Linked DNA regions of Homo sapiens: regions 1 and 2 are each linked to region 3. The links are contacts of gene promoters, found by promoter capture Hi-C in blood cells and fetal thymus (Javierre and others, 2016). All regions are on one chromosome and are shown on one strand. The core of a region is centred on a gene start or on the middle of the fragment in contact, and the rest is flanking DNA. Distances in the headings are between cores, read along the strand shown. Region 1 overlaps STIL (STIL centriolar assembly protein). Region 2 overlaps STIL (STIL centriolar assembly protein). Region 3 holds the start of LINC00853 (long intergenic non-protein coding RNA 853).

Region 1 (2,700 bases), core at 130-2,629, 100 kb before region 3:
TGGCTGGTCCAGCTTCCCTGGTCAACTAACACTGGCCTGAAAAATAAAATAATTTGTGGTTGTCAGATACTAAATTAAATGATCTGAGTACTACTGCAACTTATTAAAGGACTTTATTCAATTTCTAGAAGAAAGAAAACACTGGATTACCAAAGGCTTTTCTGGTCTCCCCTTCTATTCTTTAGGTCTTCCCAAAAGTTATCTTCTGGGAAGATGCCAATACATGATCACGACTCTGGTGTTGAAGATGAAGATTTTTCTCCAAGACCAATTCCTAGTCCTCATCCAGTGAGTCAGAAGGTATCACTGATTTTAAAATGCATTCACTTTTGTGGTTAGAGACCTAAGTCTCTTCATGGTTAAAACACTAAATAATACTACCTGAAACCTAAGTATCATTCTTAGATATATCTAGCTATTTCTATCTCTATGGTTATATCTATATATAGAGATATAAGTATTTCACAGTTATATATAATAATTCATATTATATGTAATGATATATACATATGTGTAATATCTATGTAATAAGCATGTATGGTTATTCCTAGAGTAAACTGAGACATAGATTGGTTAAGTTACCTACCCAAGACACACAACTAGTAAGTAGTAAAGCTGGGATTCTATTTCAGGAGGTTTGGTTTTAGAATCTGGTACTTTTAATAACCATATAGACTCAACATTATATACTATCACTAGAGCTTGACATTGGTTTTTATCACTATATTCTGAGAAAACATTATACTTGCTTTCAGAGGTTAATTGCTAAAATTCTTGTCATAATTTTTTTATTGCTACCAACCTGTGGGTCATTTTAGAATTGTTTAATTCTTATTTTAGAAGAAAAAGGAATGGGAAGGATTTTTTAAAGCTAATATCAAATTATAACCAAATTCATCACAGCGAGTATTTTGTTTACTCTTTTTTGCTTTCCACCTCTTAGTTGATATCAATAGAAGGAATAACAGTGAGTGACTTCTTAGTGGAGAAATATTTTGAAACATTTATTGGAAGATTTTACTATTTAAGGTACATAAACATTTGCTACTAGATCTGTGAAAACATTCTGCTTGTGACAATTTTATTTTTTGCAGAGAGGATTTAAAAAGTTATATAAAACAGTTTCTCATATTGTGTTCTGTGATCTTAGCAGTGTTAGTGTTTTAATAAAAAGAGTTCCATTATTAAATAAGTTTGGGAAGTGTTTAGTTTTATTCTTTTAGGGCAAGGACCTTGTTTATTTAGCTTACAATTGCATTCCTAGTGCTTAGCACATAAAACATGCCCAGAAAAAATTAACTGATGGTCTAAATAAAGAATGAACACTTGTTAATATGTAATTAGATATAATTTGGGAAATACTGGTCTGAGGAAAGTAAAGTATACAGTTTCTCCAAAAAAATACTTTTTTTTTCTATTTCTTTCTTATTTGTAGATTTCTAAGATCCAACCATCAGTTCCTGAACTTTCACTTGTGTTGGATGGCAATTTCATAGAATCAAACCCTCTGCCTACTCCATTGGAAATGGTGAATAATGAAAATCCTCCTTTGATTAACCACTTGGAACACTTGAAGCCATTGCAACCCCAGCTTTATGATGAGAAACACAGTCCAGAAGTTGAAGCTGGAGAGCCTTCCTTGAGAGGAATACCAAATCAGTTAAACCAGGATAAACCAGCTCTTTTGAGACACTGCAAAGTAAGACAGCCACCTGCCTATAAGAAAGGGAACCCCCATACCAGGAACAGTATTAAACCATCTTCTCATAATGGGCCATCTCATGATATATTTGAAAAGCTCCAAACAGTTTCTGCTGGAAATGTACAAAACGAAGAGTATCCTATAAGACCCTCCACACTTAATTCTAGGCAGTCTTCTCTTGCCCCGCAGTCCCAACCACACGATTTTGTTTTTTCACCCCATAATTCAGGAAGACCAATGGAACTTCAGATACCTACTCCCCCACTGCCATCTTACTGTTCCACAAACGTTTGCAGGTGTTGTCAGCATCATAGTCATATTCAATATAGTCCGCTAAATTCTTGGCAAGGAGCAAACACAGTTGGATCCATTCAAGATGTCCAGTCTGAAGCCCTTCAAAAGCATTCATTATTTCACCCAAGTGGATGTCCAGCCCTGTACTGTAATGCATTCTGTTCTTCAAGTAGTCCTATAGCCTTGAGACCTCAGGGAGATATGGGCAGTTGTTCTCCCCACAGCAATATTGAACCATCGCCTGTGGCAAGACCGCCTTCACATATGGACTTATGTAACCCACAGCCTTGCACAGTGTGCATGCACACACCCAAGACTGAGTCAGATAATGGAATGATGGGACTATCTCCAGATGCATATCGGTTCCTCACAGAACAAGACAGACAGCTAAGACTACTTCAGGCACAGGTTTGCTTGGTGCTTTCCTAGTTCTATTAATTTCTTGGTATTAAGATTTCTTAAAAACTGGCACCTCTCCTCAGTAATGATGTTTTATAGAAGTATAGAATGTCAGAATTAGGAGGGACCTTGGAAACTGAATTCTAGGCCCTCTTGTTTTACAGGTAAGTAAAATGAGGATTAGAGAGAATAATTTAACCCAATGCCACGTTGCTAGTTAGTAGTAGAACCATCTTATGCATATCCTAACCTACAATAGAATTGTATTTTTATTTTTTGCCTCTAATGAAAAGTCTGTTATAATT
Region 2 (2,700 bases), core at 131-2,630, 120 kb before region 3:
AAAGATGTATAAGGCAAAGTTGATTACTATGACCAATTATTCATTTTTCTTTACTTTTCTTTTAGAATCTCCCCTCAGGCAAAATTTTCCTTCTGCTTCTTAACATCTGTTCCTTGTACTTTTGAGAGATAATCTTATCTTCCCAGTTTTCTGCAAATTCTGCATATTGTAGGAATTCAAAAGAGGTGAAATATAGTAAAAACTGAAAGTGTTTTTTATTATGTCAGCATGGTGTCTTTGTGGAACGTTGAGAAGCTTGAACCAATTTTTGAGTGGATCAGATTAGAAGGAATATAAAATCTTGTAGTTACATCTAGGACCTTGACAGACAAGAAAGTTTAGGTGTAAAGTAATAGAAAATAGATCTATTGAGGTTTTGTACATAAGAGTTACTTGTTAAAAGTAGTATTCTAAGAAGGATAGATTATGGCGGGGAGAGCCTTGAGTCAGCCTAGCTTCAAGATGCTTTTCTGTAATCACACAGGTGTATATTGTAATGGTTTAAGGTGCTATAACTGGGCTGGGTGCAGTGGCTCACACCTGTAACCCCAGCACTTTGGGAGGTTGAGGCAGGAGGATTGCTTGAAGTCAGGAGTTTGAAACCAGCCTGGGCAACAAAGTGAGACCTTGTCTCAATAAAAAATTAAAATAAAAAGTAAAAAAAAAAACAAAATAAGGAAAAAAAAACGGTGCAATAATTGGAGCAGACTGCCTAGGGAATCAAATCCTGATTCTAGTACTTATTTATGCAACCTCAGTAAAGTAGCCAAGGATCAGTTTCCTTATTTATAAAATGACTATAATAATACCAGTTTCACAGTTCTCTTGTAGGGGTTAAATAAGACTCTGTAAAGCAATTGTCACAGTGCCTGGAATAGAAAGTATTTCATAAATGGCATCTATTATACATTATAAGGACTTAGAGCAATGTAGCAGTATTCAGATCAAGAGGAAAGAATGAAACAAGGTGTTTTGAATAAATAATTTGTAGTATTTGATGATTGACTGAATAGAGGAACTGAAGGAAAGATACAAGAAAGAAAGTATTCGGGTTCAACACTAGTTGGCAGAGAAGGGTGGTACCATTGACAAAAATAGGGAGAGTCTTATGGAAGTTCAACTAAATAATGGTTAGTCCTGTTTTTATTTTTTTTATTGTTGTCTTTCTGTACATTTTGAGTAGTTTCCTTTGTTTTTCAAGTCTGCTTATTTTCTCTTTAGCTGTGCTTAGCTGCCATCTAACCTATTCATTTAAGTTTGGTTGTTTTTTTTGAGAGGAGTTTTGCTGTTGTTGTCCAGGCTGGAGTGCAGTGGCGTGATGTTGGCTCACTGCAACCTCCGCCTCCCATGTACAAGCGATTCTCCTGTCTCAGCCTCCCAAGTAGCTCGAATTACAGACATGTGCCACCACGCCTGGCTAATTTTTTTGTATTTGGTAGAGATGGGGTTTCACCATGTTAGTCAGGCTGGTCACGAACTCCTGACCTCAGGTGATCCACCTGCCTCATCCTCCCAAAGTGCTGGGATTACAGGCATGTGCCACCACGCCTGGCCCTCATTTAGGTTTTTTAAAACGTGGCGGTGTACCATATATATGAGAGGATACTTATAGTATATATGCATAGTTAATAGAATAACAATACACATTTGTGTACCTATCCCCAGTTAATTATATAACTTATTGAATTTTTGCAAATTATATTTTTTATTTCTTTAAGTTCTGTATGGCTTTTTTATTCAAATTTGCCTGGTCTTTTTTCGTAGTATCTTATTCCTGGCTTATATTTTGGTTTTCCTTTTACATTTTTTAAAGCATTTAAATCATACTATATTTTGTATTCAATACAGTAGTTTCCCCCCTTTATGCATGGTTTCACTTTCCATGGTTTCAGTTACCCACAGTATAATACAATAAGGTATTTTGAGAGACAGACCATATTCACACAACTTTTTTACAGTATACTGTTAAAATTATGCTACTATTAATTATTGTTGTTAATCATTTACTGTGCCTAATTTATAAATTAAACTTTATCATAGATACGTATGTATAGGAAGAAACATAGTATATATAGGATTTGTTACTATCTGTGGTTTCAGACATCCACTGGGGGTCTGGAACATGTCTCCCAGAGATAAGGGGGCACTACTGTAATGCTGATTATATCTGAAGCCCATACACAGTATGTAAAGAAACAGATGTGACTGTTTCAATCAAAATTTACTTACAAAAACAGGAGACCTACCTGCTGAGGTTCATAAAGTTAACAAAATGCCTGGAGAACAACTATAGTTTCAGTGTCTGTTTATTGCCATTCTAGTTTCCAAGTGGCCCTCCGTATCCCCTGCCTTTGACCCTGGGATTTCCTGACAATGATCTTTCTGTACATTTTTAAAAATGTGTGTTATAATTTAGACAGCATTTTATGGCAGGAGGTTTTTTTAAGATATGAGGTCTACCATATTCATAAAAGACTTGTTGTTTTTCAGAAATCCAAAGCTTGTGGTGACTGAGAAGACCATCCGACTTGCTTATCGTCATGCTAAGCAGAATAAAAAAAATTCGTCATGCTTTTTACTTGGTTCTCTGACAGCAGACGAAGGTAATACACTTTTAAAAATGGACCAGTGCTCACGCCTGTAATCCCAGCACGTTGGGAGGCTGGAGTGGGAGGATCACTTGAACCTAGGAGTTTAAGA
Region 3 (2,700 bases), core at 63-2,562:
CATAGGGTTACATTATAGGTTATACCCAAACTCAGGCAGAAAAGAAAAGCCTCCACCCAGCAACTGCACAGTTGAGGGAAGACTGCAGCACTGCTTACTTCATTTAGACTTGAAGAGGAACTTCCAGCCAGGAGTTGGCTTTGAAAACAGGCTGTGGAGTTCCGTCTCCAGAGTGCCAGGTGGTCAAGGGGAGTTTCAAGATTACTGCCGTCATACTCAGAGTGACACATGCAGAAATACTATCTGTTTATTGTGCTTCAAGGATCCATTAGATCAGGACTATTGCTGGGCAAAGCCTCTTCCCGCAGCCTAGGGGTAGTAAAGGTGGGGGTAGAGGTGCTGGGGCTGGGGCCAGAATCACACACAGTCTGCTCTGGCCTCTACCCACCTTCACAGGGAAGTCAGGTGGCTGAAGCCAGCAGAACTTGCTCTGGGACCAGGGTGGAGGCACCTGCCTCCCATCCAGACCTGGCTGGAGGGTCTTGACTCCCTAGCTTGGCTCTCCTCCCAGGGTTTTTTTTTTTTTTTTTTTTTGTCCCTGGCAGTGCAGGGGTGGCCAAAAGCTTGAGCTTGGGAATCATGCCGATTGGTTCAAATTCCAGCCTGCTCCTCGATGCTTGTGGGATCGCCTAGCCTTTCAGATCTTCCATTCCTTTGCCGGTAAAATTGGCTCTATAGTACATTCCTTGCAGGGCTGCTGGGAGGAAACAGAGATGACATCCGTGTTATTATTGCTCCTGAGACTTGCCAGAAAGCCCTCCATGATCAGCGTAGATGCCATTTCTTCCCAGATGCTCCTTTCCCCACTCCTGGGTTCAGCACTTCCTCCGGGCAACTTCAGCCCCTGCTCCTCCCTCTCTTTGCACCCGCCCCACCTGCCCCACTCACTCCACCCACCCCAGGGTGCTGTCTACTTGTCTGCATCCTGCTCCTGCCCTGGGTCTGGGAGCTCCTCAAGGGCAGGAATGGAGTGACTTCCCTCTCTGTGCACCCAGGACAGGGCTGGACAGGAGAAGGGAAGCCCAAGGAGTGGTGAAGAGCCCCGAAGGAAGGGACTAAACTCCAGCCATCTGTCCCGCGGTGTCTGTTCATACTCCTCCTCCGTGCACGGGCTCAGACATACATATGCGCATATGCTCTGTCTCTTTCTGGTTGAAGGTCCTGGGAGCCCTCCGGAACTCTGCTGCCTGGCAGTCCTTCAGTTTCGGGAGCTTTTCTGTCTGCCCGTGGCCTCGGCTGCCACCTGGTGGCTGCACGCTCCAAAGGAAGCGTAGATTGATGAGAGCCTCGGAAGTTGAGCTTCAGGCGCGGCTCTTCCCCGTCACACTGGGACCGGACGCATTTCCATGGCGTGGTCCCAGGAACCTCTCAGGTCATGCCAGCAACTGGGACTTCCTGTGGAATGCAAGGGCAGTGGGGCCTCCGCGAGAGAGAGAGAGAGAGAGAGAGAGAGAAGAGAGAGATATTAAGGATGAATCCCAGTGTCTGCTCTGAGCAAATTGGAAGACGATGGCATCAGGGGCACTGCTCTGGGCTATATAGACTGTGCCTCCACTAAAGGGTCCCTGAGACCAGGTGTGGGCCCGTATCCCTGGAGGGAGAGGTAACTTCCTCTGATTCGAAGGCATCATATAGGCTAGTGAATGGCACTGAGAATGGCAGATGCCAGGGACAAGCAGGAGCATGTGTGGGATGAGGATGCGGCGTGGATGTGTGACGTTTCAGAGCCTGCAACACATCCGTAGGGAAGTCCTGGAGGAGCAGTTGGGTGCATGGTGGAGTTCTGAAACAGCTGGGCAGTCGGCACTTGAGCCAGAGATTCTGCTTTCGACCTGGATGCCCATTGAGAGGTTAAGAGCTCAGGTCTGGGTCAGGCAGCTTGGAAGCAGCACAGCTTGGACACTTGGTAGCCTGGGACTGTGGTTAAATCAACGTGACTCTCGGAGCTCCAGTTCACTGTAAATTAGGGCAGTAAATGATGTCTACATGATAAGTGGTGTTATGAATGTTAAACATTCACATGAAATACATAGAATAGTGCTTAGCATACAGTACACAATAACTGTTAGCTATTTGGAAAATTACTATTGTTATTATGATTATTTATTACAGAGTGAACTGAATTGGATGCAAGATCACGGTGCGTCAGAGCTAGCAAGATCCTTAGGATCATTTAGCCTGGTTTACTAATATTACACTATGGAATTTAAGCCCAAGGAATGGAGAGTACCCGACGAGCGTTATGTAAGGAGTCGAGTGAGAAGTAAGCTGGATGCTCTGCTTGGCTGGCAGGTACAGAATGTGCCAGACCCATCTGTACCAGCCTGGATCTCTTGAGGCATCAGCACAATGGACCTGGCCACACCAGTTTATTCCACACCGCTGAGGCTGGTACAGTTCTGGACATGGACTTTGTAAATAAATAACTGGGCCTTTGGTCAGTTCTAGCTGTGAGCTTGGAGGTATGGGGTGGGATGGTGAGGACAGGTGGGGGCAAAGTGAGGAAAGGGGCAGGGAGGAGAGGGGAGAGAGAAAAAGGGGAATGAGACAGGCTGAGCTAGTGAGCTGGAATTGGAGGTTGGGAACAGGCTTTCCTTGATGGTGGTGGTGCTGTTTTCTTTTTAATTTTAATTTAATTTTATTTTAAGTTCCAGGCTACATGTGCAGGATGTACAGGTTTGTTACATAGGTAAAAACATG

Evidence for each region. The method cuts DNA at HindIII sites, captures the fragments that hold promoters and counts their contacts. A CHiCAGO score of 5 or more calls a contact.
Region 1: a fragment that was not itself captured here is called in contact with the fragment with the promoter of LINC00853 in region 3 in 2 of 17 cell types (erythroblasts and megakaryocytes); the score reaches 10.6 in erythroblasts.
Region 2: a fragment that was not itself captured here is called in contact with the fragment with the promoter of LINC00853 in region 3 in 2 of 17 cell types (megakaryocytes and erythroblasts); the score reaches 10.8 in megakaryocytes.

Annotation. Positions count from the first base shown.
Region 1 is chr1:47,279,945-47,282,644 of GRCh38, reverse strand. STIL (STIL centriolar assembly protein) reads left to right here. Exons shown (of 17, transcript NM_001048166.1): 11 at 186-300; 12 at 1,436-2,404. Among named protein-coding and RNA genes, the nearest start is that of STIL, 33 kb to the left of the region's middle. The HindIII fragment of the contact is 6,113 bases long and covers 1-2,700 here.
Region 2 is chr1:47,302,137-47,304,836 of GRCh38, reverse strand. It overlaps STIL (STIL centriolar assembly protein), which reads left to right. Exons shown (of 17, transcript NM_001048166.1): 4 at 2,491-2,603. Among named protein-coding and RNA genes, the nearest start is that of STIL, 11 kb to the left of the region's middle. The HindIII fragment of the contact is 2,245 bases long and covers 258-2,502 here.
Region 3 is chr1:47,177,862-47,180,561 of GRCh38, reverse strand. LINC00853 (long intergenic non-protein coding RNA 853) reads right to left here and starts at 1,312. Exons shown (of 2, transcript NR_047498.1): 1 at 1,124-1,312; 2 at 223-694. It overlaps CYP4A22-AS1 (CYP4A22 antisense RNA 1), which reads left to right and starts at 939. Exons shown (of 6, transcript NR_199717.1): 1 at 939-1,372; 2 at 2,113-2,437. RefSeq lists an enhancer at 940-1,441. The HindIII fragment of the contact is 3,617 bases long and covers 566-2,700 here.